Regions from separate parts of the Homo sapiens genome. Here all the other regions are linked to region 3. The links are contacts of gene promoters, found by promoter capture Hi-C in blood cells and fetal thymus (Javierre and others, 2016). All regions are on one chromosome and are shown on one strand. The core of a region is centred on a gene start or on the middle of the fragment in contact, and the rest is flanking DNA. Distances in the headings are between cores, read along the strand shown.

Region 1 (3,713 bases), core at 1-2,500, 53 kb after region 3:
GAATGTCTTTGAGTCGGCTTCCCATCTGTGAAATGGGCACAGGACTATCTCTCTCACAAGCCTGTATTGAGGCATGTATGAGAAGCCATCTGCACCAAGGTGCTCACACAGCTCTTAAAGGAGGTGGGGCCACAGGTGGACTTTGATGTTTAAGACAGTGATGAAATGAGAAGACACTTCAAGTACAGGGTCACCCTGAACAAGGCCTGGAAGAGAGGAGCCTCTGCCCAGGGCAGGCATGGGGGAAAGTCTGACCACAGGTGCAGGAGGCTCAGATGCCACCCATTCACTGGACACGTGACCTGGGCTGAGCCATGCGCTTGGCTCCAGGGACACAGAAGACACTGTGCCTCGCCTCAAGGAGCTCCTGTTGGTGGAGGAAGCTGTGCAGACAAGTGACTGTCTCACAGCATTGTAAGTGCTGTCTATACTGAAGGAAGGGGACGTAGGTTGCTCAGTCAGAAGGTGGGGGAGGGAGGGGACACTCTGCAGAGATGGAATAAGATTGGGTCGGAGATGGCCTGGCATGGTAGGCCAGGTCATGGTGGGCTTCCTGGACCAGCAGAGGAATCAGACTGGCAAAAGGGAGGCCGGGGGATCCTTCAGCCGGGTAGAGACTGATGACAGGAATGCTTTGGGCTCCTTTTCCATCAGAGTGGGTCTGAGTTCCCTTTAATAATGGTGCATGGGTGCCTGAACACTTGCTAGGCTCTGGCCTCAGATGGTGTCAGAGGGTTCAGAGCCCCTGGGCCTATGAGAGGTGGTGGGTAGGAGGAATATTTTTCGGAAGAAATTAGGATGTTTCCCATGCACCCTGATGAGCCTCTGCCTGGGCTGCTCTCAAACCTCCACTCCCAAACTGAGGGAAGAGAGATACCCTCTCATATTGTTTTATATTGTTTTATACTCAGTACCTCTTTTAAGAAAAAACAAGGAAGTAAAACCAAAGACAGGCAGCCCGGCGCCAGGCCTGAAACCAGGCCTGGGCCTGCCTGGACTAAACCCAGTAGTTAAAAATCAACTCATAACTTAAAAACCAATGTTATTCATAGATTCCAGACATTGTATAGAAGAACATTGTGAAACTCCCTGCCCTGTTCTGTTTCTCTCTGACCACCGGTGCATGCAGCCCCTGTCACGTACCGCCTGCTTGCTCAAATCAATCACGACCCTTTCATGTGAAATCTTTAGTGTTGTGAGCCCTTAAAAGGAACAGAAATTGTGTATTCAGGGAGCTCAGATTTGAAGGCAGTAGCTTGCCGATGCTCCCAGCTGAATAAAGCCCTGCCTTCTACAACTCAGTGTCTGAGAGGTTTTGTCTGCGGCTCACCCTGCTACATTTCTTGGTTCCCTGACTGGGAAACGAGGTGACTGACGGATGGCCGAGGCAGCCCCTTAGGCGGCTTAGGCCTGCCCTGTGGAGCATCCGTGAGGGGAACTCCGGCCAGCCTGAGTGACGTGATCCAAAGAGCGCTCCCGGGTAGGCAATTGCCCCAATGGAACGCCTTGCCAGAGCAGCGTGTAGCAGGCCCCCACGGAAGATTAACACAGTGGCTGAACACCAGGAAGGAACTGGCACTTGGAGTCCGGACATCTACAACTTGGTAAGACTAGTCTTTGGAACTTGCCCCACTCCATCTGAGTGGAAGCGTGGCCTGATCACCCACAGTGTGCCTGTATTGGCATTTTGTTCTGGTTTTGACTTGGCTTGAGTTGGTAAGACTAGTCTTTGGAACTTGCCCTACTCCATCTGGGTGGAAACATGGCCTGATCACCCACGGCATGCCTGCATTGACACTTTTGTTCTGGTTTTGACTTGACTTAGATTGTGTGATACTTTGGTTTTAGTTTTGACCTGGCTTGGATTTCTGGATACTCTGATTTTGGTTTGGTGTAAACTGCAAAAGTGTGTGTGTGCCCTTTTTACCTGTTTTTTGTTTTGTGGTGTGTGTGTGGTGTGAACATGGTGTTTTGTCTTGAAGAAGCATGGGTCAGGCAAAAATAAGCCCACCCCACTAGGAACTATGTTAAAAAAAATAAAAATTTCAAGAAAGAATTTAAGGGAGATTACGATGTTACTGTGACACCAGGAAAACTTAGAACTTTGTGTGAAATAGACTGGCCAGCATTAGAGTGGGTTGGTCATCAGAAAGAAGCCTGGACAGGTCCCTTGTTTCAACGGTATGACACAGGGCAACCTGTAAGCCAAGGCACCCAGACCAGTTTCCATACATAGACAGTTACAGCTGGTTTTAGACCCCCTTCCCCTCCACAGTAGTTAAAAGAACAGCAGCATAAGCAGTTGGGAGAGGCAAGGAAAGACCAGCAGAGAAAAAAAAAAAAGAGGCCATCTATACCAATTCTAAGTTAATTTAGACTAAACAAGGTCTTATTAATAGCAAAGGATAATTGAAATCCCAAACTTACAAGGTTTTCAACAAAAGTGAAGTTTGCTAAAAGTTAACAGCATAACATATATTGTGGTAACTTCTAATCTTGTGGCCTTAGAGAGTCTAGTCCAAAGACATAAAGAAAGTTCGCTTTAAAAAAAGGAATGGTTATCTTCAAAAAAAAAAGCGGGGGGGAGGCAGAATTTATGTAAAAAGAGTGTTATATGGTAAATTCTTGTCCTGAAATAAATTAACTGGTTGTTTAAAGAAAAAAAATGTTTGTAATAAGTCAGAAAGTTGAGGCATGTTGAAGAATTGTCGGCGAAAGTTGTGAAAGAAAAAATGTTATAAAAAAATTTATGCAAAAAAGCCTCCTGAGTACTACTATTGAAGAAACAGTTTATGTGCAAGGTGTATAAAAATAGTAAAATATACCTTTGGTAAAAAGATTATAAGGAGGCATAAGAATGTGGATTTTTACCAACATTAAAAGGTTAAAAAATTATTGTTTTGAAAGTTTAAGCAAGTTTTAAAACTTTAATTGTAAAGAAAATTCTGTGTATAAACATATTAGCTAAAGTTAAAAAGGTATCATCCAGCTTTTCTGTGAACTGGACATTAAAGTAAAAATGCAACAGGTTTTTCTTAAAGCATCAACCTGCTCTTTAACAAAAATTATAAAAGGTTAAAAAGAGTCTATAAAATCTCACCTTATGGTCAAACATGAAAAATTGGATAAATATATCTACAAGGTTTTATTAAAATTAAGTTTAACATTAATAACACACTAATATAAAGGTAAAATTTAGCTTATCTGGTATAAAAATCATACAAGAAGCATTATTAAATATAAAATGGTGTTTAACTTTCTTTGGTCTAAAAACTAATAAAAATAGGTACTAAAGGAAACATTCCTTTTACTAGAGGATCATAGAAGTTAAAGACTTAAAACAAACTTTGGAAATTAAGACAGCATACCAAGATGCAAATGCCTGGTTGAAATGGATCAAATATTCCATCTGCACATTAAACAAAAGCAATTGTTATGCTTGTGCACATGGCAGGCCAGAGGCCCTGATTGTCCCCCTTCCACTAAGGTGGTCCTCCAGTCGACCAGGCGTGGGCTGCATGGTAGCTGTTTTCCAGGATTCTACAGCCTGGAGTAATAAGTCATGCCAAGCTCTCTCTGCTATATCCTGAAGTCCCTGAGGGTCAGCCCCCGAAGGCCATCCAGCTTCTGTCTCCCAACGCTAAGTTCACTTCTTGTCTCTCGTGGCAGGGAGGAGACTTAGCATTCCTTGGAGACCTGAAGGGATGCAGTGA
Region 2 (4,285 bases), core at 90-2,589, 45 kb before region 3:
AATACTTCATTTTTATGACTGAATAATATTTCCTCTTATGGATAAATTACATTTTACTTATCCATTCATCAGTTGACTGACATTTAGGTTGTTTCCACATTTTGTCTATTGTAAATAATGTTGCTATGAATACTAGTATATAAGATTTTGTGTAGAAGTATGTTTTCAATTATCTTGGGCATGTACCTGGAAGTAGAATTGCTGAGGACATGATAACTGTATTTTTAACTTTTTGAGGAACTTCCAAATTGTTTTCCAAAATGCTGTACCATTTAACATTCGTACTAGCAATGTATAAAGTTTCCAGTGCCTTTACATCCTTGCCAACACTTGTTATTATTGACCTTTTTGATTTCAGCCATTCTAATAGATATGAAATGACATCTCATTATGGTTTTGATTTGCATTTCTCTAATAACTAACGAAGTTGAGCATTTTTCATGGGCTTATTGGCCACTTGTGTAACTCTTTGGAGAAATATCTATACAAATGCTTTGGCCATTAAAATATTGGTTATTTGTCCTTTTACTATTGAACTATAAGAGTTTTAAAATATATTCTGAATATTAGTGACTTATAAGATATATAATTTACAAATGTTTCCCCCAGTCTGTGGGCTGTATTTTCATGTTCTTGTGCATTTTTTGAAGCACAAATGTTCTTAATTTTGGAAAAGTCCAGTTTAGCCATTTTTATTATTGTTTGGCTTGTGCTTTTGCTACTGTATGTAAGCAACCACTGACTAATCCAAGGCTGTTAATATTTATGCCTGTGTTTTCTTCTAGATTTTCATAAATTTAGCCTCAGTTTTCTCACATAGGCAATGCAGATAATAAAACTTAAGATCATAATATTGTAATCTTAGTATTGTTCAGAGGCTTGGATATGTTGACACATGGAAAGCCCATAATAAAGGGTTAGACTCTGCTGTTTCATAATTACGAGTGTTTATTCTTCTTACCTTCCTAACTTCAAGGAGTCCTTTAATCACTTCCTGTTTAACTTGAGAAGAGTTGGCAAATACACCTGCTAACAGCAACTGATAAACAATGTTATCTGTAGCTTTCTAATGCTTGAGCTTCCACAAAGGCCTTCTTTAAACCCAGGTAGGCTGAACAACAAGGTACTCTATCCATTGGGCTCATGCACTAACATCACTGTGAACAGAGAACAACACCTGCTGTCTGTGGCACTGGCCAGGGGTGAAGAGAGGGACTATGAGGCCATTTTCCTGGAGTGGTTGGGGCATTAGAACTGGGGGAAGGCAGGCAATCTCAGAACTTACCTAAAAAGAGATGCAACCCACAGACTCCTAGAAAGCAAAGCAGAGTGGATTGCAGATTTCTAAGGTGGTAGTCATGGGGGAGGAGGCTTATCCCCATTCACCATCTTAAACATTTGGTAGGAGAAGTTATGCTGGGATTTCTTTAATTTATTTATATTTCCTCGTGTGTGTGTGTGTGTTTTTTTCTCAAAGAAAATGCTTCAGGTTTTTTATTTTTTTTGTGGGGGCGGTGGTGGGGGGAGATGAAGTCTTGCTCTGTCATCCAGGCTGTAGTGCAGTGGCACAATCTCAGCTCACTGCAACCTCCACCTCCCAGGTTCAAGCGATTCTCCTGCCTCAGCCTCCCAAGTAGCTGGGATTACAGGCACACGCCACCATTCCTGGCTAATTTTTGTATTTTTAATGGATATGGTTTTTATCATGTTGGCTAGGCTGGTCTTGAACTCCTGACCTCAAGTGATCTGCCTGGCTCGGCTTCCCAAAGTGCTGGGATTACAGGTGTGAGCCACAATGCCCAGCTGAAGCATAAGTCACCTACTTCCAGCAGGAATTTAACCAGTGACCTAAGGATTGCTTCAGTTTTTTAAAAAAAGTTTGAAAACGACTGATGTAATCCAACCCATCATAAATGAAAATGCAGCCCACAAAAATTCAGTGATTCACCCAAAGTCACACAGGAAGGGAACAGCAAAGCTGGAACTCCAAAGTGGGTGTCTGTTCTGACCAGGAGACCAAGATTCTTTCTATGTCACCTGCTGCCTCCCTGTTAAGTCACCTTCCACAGCATCTGAAAAATTCTTAGCATGTGCTGACTTGAGTCATAGAATATCTTTGGTTGTAGATATATTGTCCCCATGAATAGATTTATCTGATCATAGATGTTTGGATCTGCAGGGCGTGGGGACTAGATTTAGGATCAAGAGGATGGATTCCAAACTCAGGTTCTGGTGGATTTGGGGTGCCACTTAACCTGTGCACATCTCAGCTTTTTCATCTGAAAAATGGGATTCTAAATTCTCTTCCTGCTACCTTTCTTTCATTGTTCTGAGGATCGCTCAAACAAAAGACATGAAAGAGATGTGTAATTGTAATGTATTCATTTAGATCTTCATTTATTCCTTTAGTAGCAGAATATTGGTGCTCATGGCTTTATTTGGTTTAGAGAATCACTAGTTCTAACCTTCTCATCACAGGGTTTTTCTTCTGATTCCCGAGCTGGCAGGGAGAGGCTGTGCTAAGTGGCTGAAAGTTTGTCACTCTGTCCCACACCTGCCATGTGACTACATGATGCCATGTGACTACACCCAGGACAACTCCCTTCAGCTCTTGCTCATATTTCCAGATGCTCACTAGACCTAAATGCTCACTAGATCCAAATACCTGAGTATCTAAGAGGCATCTGTATTTATTCTCCCCCAAGCCTGGTTTGTCTTCCTCATCTTGGTATATGGCACCTCCAAAACCCTAGGTACCATCCTTATGTACTCCCATGTCCTCGATTCTCACCTCATTTACAAATGGAAATGGAAATTTTCTCTACAGCATCCATTCTGCCCTCTCCCACTACTCAGCAACTATGTCATTTGTGTAGGTCTGACTACACCCGTACCTTTATTGGTACAAGCAAATTAAAATAATTTCACCCTCTTACCTATGGTGATGGTTTCCAATAAATCCCATCTAAGCTAAGCTAATCAGTCCATTGGCAGCTGGGGATTAATGGGAGTATTAAGCCAACTATCATTTTAATTCTCCTGGAAACAGGGATTTGTTTAGAAGTGGTCGAATCAAGCCCCAACTCAAGATTTTTATTTTATGGTTATTGGGAATGATGCTTGCTTCCTCCTATATGTGAACAGAACTAACTCACAATCATGTACGTATATTGTTCTAGGAGCCATCTTGGAGTTATTAATAAAGTTAGCGTAAGAATAAATGGACACATAGAGAGTGGGAGAGAGAAAGGGCAGACCTGAGAATCACAGAAAAATAAACCTGGAGACCTGATCAAACCTTGCATGAAGCTTCCACTCTTCCACTTTTCATTTGTGGGAATCTGTAAGTTGCACTTATTTTTCAGACTGTTAATATTTACATTTTCTGTTACCTGAAATCAAAAGCACCCAAACTGATAAACTTACTTAAACCACTAGCAAGTCATGTAACATCTGTTTCTAAAACTGTGTAACAAATCTGTCCATATCTCACTGTTATCGTCACCACCACCTAGTTCAAGGCAGCAGCATCTTTGGTCTGGACTATTGTAACAATCCCTACTTCAATTTTCAGCCTCTACTGTTCAATGTAGCCCCCAAACAGCAGCCAGAGACATCAGTTAAAAATGGAAACCAGATCTGGTTACTTTCTTGATGAAAACCTTTCAAAGATTTTCATTTGCTCTTAAAATAAAACTCACTGTTCCCCTTCCCCATCCCAGCCAGCCCTACTGGATGGACATGTCCCCTGCGTCTCCCGTTGCTTCTCTTTGGGCTTTCTGCCCCAGCCTCATGCCTCTCCTCGAACAGCCACTCCCTTTCCCACTTGCTGTTCCCTCTGCCTGAAATATTTTCCTTTTGCCCTCACCTGACAGCCTTATTATTATCGTTTAAGTCACAGCTTGAATATCACCTCTTCAGAGAGGTCTTTCCCAACCACCTCTCCCAGCTTCCCTATCTGTTCCCTAGTTTATGTCCTCCAAAGTGCTTATCAAAATTTGTAACGATTTCTTTTATACATTTACTTGTTTATTGTCAGTACAATGTAAGCCCCTCATGAGGACCTTGTCTGTCTTGTTTAAACTTGACTTACAGTTAGGCTCAATAAATATTTGTTGAATTGTTGTTGAATGGTGAACACCCAACAGCTGTGCGGCAACAGGAAATGCCATAGGGAGGTGCACCAGAGCGCCACCCAGTGGCATCTTAGGCCTGGCATGGAGGTTTTCAGAGCTCAGTCCAATGACACAACTTGAAACATTGATCTGAATCATCTGGCAGGTGA
Region 3 (4,093 bases), core at 408-2,907:
GCTGGTAGGGGACTCTGGAGTGATAATTGCTCATCAGAGTTTTCCCCCATCAGGGCAAACTGGCCAGGCCCTCACCACCCTCAGTCACTGAATGTGGGATGTGGCTGCTTTGGGAAGGACGTGACCTCATGCAAGCACTCCTTGCAGCTGAGCATCCACTTATACCTTGAAGGGGGATCTAGGAAGCACATAGCCATATGTATGACAAACTTTGTGCCGATAGCTCTCTCTTTGTTTTGGATTTTTACCTTTAGACAAACACAGTGGTCCCCCCAGGTTTTAGAGTTAGACTGTTTGGAAACTCCTGCAAATATTTCTGGCTTGGATGGAAAGCCTGGAGTGTAATCAGCTTAGCTGGTGACCCATTTCCCCCCTCACTGGTTAGCTAAGCGGATTTTCTTTCCTGAGGCCTTTTGTAGGGTACAATGTATATCATGAGTCTTAAAGGAACTCATGGAATTTCAATATTCAACTGGAAGTGCCCTAGTTAATAGAGATGTAGACTTTTCGGATCTTAAAGAGTTTGTCAGTGGGAGGAGGATTAATGGGCACCAACTGTGTGCTAGGTGTTGTATTTAACATAATCTCAAACTTTTCTAAAAATATGGCTGGATGCAATGGCTTGCACCTGTAATCCCAGTTACTTGGGAGGCTGAGAAGTTTGAGACCAGCCTGGGCAACAGAGTGAGACCCTGTCTCTGAAAAAATACAAAAATTAAAAAATAATGAGAAATAAATTCCTGGAAACACTATGAGGTATTTGTTAATATTCTCATGATACAGAAAAGACTCACAGAGATTAAATTACATTCCAAAGATCTCAAGATTCAGAAGCACAAACAAGAGAGAAGACTCCTTGGGACAGGGTCTATAATAGGTTTGCCCTTGACCCTGTTCCTTTCATTGGGCAAGAGTATAGCTTAAAGCAAATGACCAGTAAATATTTGTGGAATAAATGAAGAGTGAAAGAGCAAGCATATAAAATTGTATACATCTCTTTTTAAAATGTAGGTTGCCCATTTTGATGAAGTGAAATGCACAGTATTAAGGAAAGGTTGTGAAGTCCAAGAAAACAATCTTTTGGTTTAATCAGAAAATACCATCTTGTATTTGAAACTGGTGACCCAAGCTGCAGAAGCAGCTGTCTTGATGCAGTAGGAGCATGACTACACCACCCGTGGTGTTGGGAAGAGAACAAATGATAGGAATGAACACAGAATTACTTTGTTACTCATCACCTATTTTCACTTTGAGAAAATGATTGGAAATTCTAGGTTTCAGGAATCAACTGCAAATGATGAAGCATTAGATGGATTCTGGCCACATCCCCTGAACAGTGGTGCTCAGAATAGCACTGCCTGCTTGTTTCTCAGACTTCTGTTTAAGACTCTAAGAAATGTAGAATCTGTATGGAATTGGACATCTGACTTGGAGTTTGCTTTTCAGACTCAAGAATTACACAAATGTTGAATTTCCTGACCCTAGTTAAGAGACATTGATCCCCCTTCGTGTGTTCTGACTGAACTTGTGGTCTGGGCTGTAACAGACCTCAGAGCTCCCATGGGCTTTCCTGCTGCTGTGTGACTTACATCATCATGGATTACCAATAATAGGATTTGCCACTCGGAAGCTGGGGCGATACTTATTCAAAACTCACAACGTATTTTCTTACAGAGAAATATGGCTTCAGTTTTTCATTACTTCCTGTTAGTTCTGGTCTTTCTGGATACACACGCAGCTCAGCCTTTCTGTCTGCCAGGATGCACTTGCTCAGAGGAGAGTTTTGGCAGGTGCGCTCTGCTGGCCAGATGTTAGAGGGTTATGGGGAATGGGTTTTCTTTGGGGATGATGTGGAGTGGAAGCAGGCTTAGAATTGGCAGGAAATCAGCAAAACTCTATGAGACTCATTCTAGTTGGGACTGAACTTTGCTGAACTGTGCATTTTTACCAAAATGAGTCTAACTCTTTTATTTCAATGAATAATAATATTTTTATTCTGATTCACATGTCTAATGCCAGGATCAGCCTGACCCCACTTTTCAGTCCCCTGTTGTTTATCTTAAAGCTGTTCTGGTTTCTTGTACAGGACTCTGCAGTGCACATCTGTCTCCTTGGGAAAGATCCCTGGGAACCTTTCTGAAGAGTTCAAGCAAGTGAGAATTGAAAATTCACCCTTATTTGAGATGCCCCAAGGGTCTTTCATCAACATGAGCACCTTGGAATACCTCTGGCTCAATTTTAACAATATCAGTGTGATCCACCTAGGAGCCCTGGAACACCTGCCAGAACTGAGGGAGCTGAGACTGGAGGGGAACAAGCTCTGCTCAGTACCATGGACAGCGTTCCGTGCCACCCCTCTCCTGAGGGTCTTGGATCTCAAACGCAACAAGATTGATGCACTCCCTGAGCTGGCTCTTCAATTCTTGGTCAGCCTGACCTACCTTGACCTATCCTCCAATAGGCTTACAGTTGTATCCAAGAGTGTCTTCCTGAACTGGCCAGCCTACCAGAAATGCCGGCAGCCTGACTGTGGGGCTGAGATTCTCTCCAGCCTGGTGGTGGCCCTGCATGACAACCCCTGGGTATGTGACTGTCGCCTAAGGGGGCTTGTCCAGTTTGTCAAGTCCATTACCCTCCCAGTCATCCTGGTGAATTCCTACCTGATATGTCAGGGCCCTCTGTCCAAGGCAGGGCAGCTTTTTCATGAAACTGAGCTTAGTGCTTGCATGAAGCCACAGATCTCAACCCCCAGTGCCAATATCACCATCCGGGCAGGACAGAATGTGACCCTGCGATGCTTGGCACAGGCCAGCCCCTCACCATCCATTGCATGGACTTATCCCCTGAGTATGTGGAGAGAATTTGATGGTAAGCCACATGCACCCTCTCAGTGTATCTGGAGGGAATGGAGAGGTCTGTAGCAAACCCATCCTCATTAGAGAGATTCAAAGCTGGGTCAGTCACGAAGGGTGGGTGCAAGTAAGATTGGGATAGCCCTGAATTATGCTCACTAGAACAGAAAAGATTTCAAGGTAGTGTTCCACTATTGGCATTATTTTAAATGTTTGCATACAGATCTCTTTGCATACAGAACATATACACATATATAAACACATATTTCAGGGCTAATTTAATATCTTATGCAAATATTATAAAATTTTATATGAGCAGATATAGTCTTTGGGAATCTTCTAGATGCAAAACACTGGACTATGTATTTTAGAATTCTAGAATTTTTTACTAGGATTGATTTTAGAGATGATCTATTAGTTATTTCCTTAACTTGCCTGAGCAGAATCACCTGGGGTGCTTGTTTGAAATAACACTGACATAAAATTGTTCAGACCTTATTGGCTTGAATTTGTAATACTGGGACCCAGGGAAAGGAAGTGACCTCTGTGGGCCCTGGGGCTGGAATTCAAACCTGCCTCTTCCTTCCTGGAACCCTCTGCTCTGTTTTCATACCTCAGCTGGGATTACCTTTAATGCTACTCTGTAGGGTTGGGCATATCACAAAGCCGGGGATGGCCTCCCTGGGGGTATCCCAAAGCTGAAAAGAAAAATCTTCGTACATTCCTCGTGTCCTGTCTTCTGTTCTCTGTCTAGAAGACAACTAGGAATAGCTGGGTAAAACTTGGGAAATATAGTCATTTGCCCAGGTATTTGTTATACATTATGACAAAACTCTGGATGGTTTAAAAATACCCAATTAACTGAATTTTCACATTCTGTATTGTTTTGATAATACCTTATTGGTTTGGCATTCAATATCAATGAAAGAAAATTATAGGATTTATTGTTGTAGCCTCTTTGAAAACCAAGAAATGCATACAGGTGTTGTCTTTCGTGGTGTTCTATAATCACTGTTTGGCAACGTGTTATATAATCTCTCAGTAAAAATATAAGCATTGAACACTTACTTTCAAACTAATGAGGTAGGTGATTGCTTATCATCCCATTTTATTGACAAGAAAATTGTCAAGAGAATTTAAGCAACTTGCCCAGTACCACACTGGATAGGAGCTCCATTAGGGATAGCAGCCCAGGCATGTGGCTCCAGGCTCTGAGGAACTGTGCATCTGGAAGGTAAGAA

Evidence for each region. Contacts are between HindIII fragments. The CHiCAGO score rates a contact against its expected background, and 5 or more counts as called.
Region 1: a contact is called between the fragment with the promoter of CERNA2 here and the fragment with the promoter of LRIT2 in region 3, in 1 of 17 cell types (neutrophils). The highest score is 5.9, in neutrophils.
Region 2: a contact is called between a fragment that was not itself captured here and the fragment with the promoter of LRIT2 in region 3, in 1 of 17 cell types (neutrophils). The highest score is 5.3, in neutrophils.

Annotation. Positions count from the first base shown.
Region 1 is chr10:84,169,613-84,173,325 of GRCh38, reverse strand. It overlaps CERNA2 (competing endogenous lncRNA 2 for microRNA let-7b), which reads left to right and starts at 1,250. Exons shown (of 2, transcript NR_134505.1): 1 at 1,250-1,604. RefSeq lists enhancers at 6-55, 876-1,115, 1,466-1,515, 1,430-1,931. The HindIII fragment of the contact is 12,565 bases long and covers 1-3,713 here.
Region 2 is chr10:84,267,634-84,271,918 of GRCh38, reverse strand. No RefSeq gene overlaps it. Among named protein-coding and RNA genes, the nearest start is that of LINC00858, 10 kb to the left of the region's middle. RefSeq lists an enhancer at 1,504-2,703. The HindIII fragment of the contact is 3,944 bases long and covers 1-3,311 here.
Region 3 is chr10:84,223,108-84,227,200 of GRCh38, reverse strand. It overlaps LRIT2 (leucine rich repeat, Ig-like and transmembrane domains 2), which reads left to right and starts at 1,657. Exons shown (of 3, transcript NM_001017924.5): 1 at 1,657-1,790; 2 at 2,087-2,868. The coding sequence starts at 1,681. The HindIII fragment of the contact is 7,130 bases long and covers 1-4,093 here.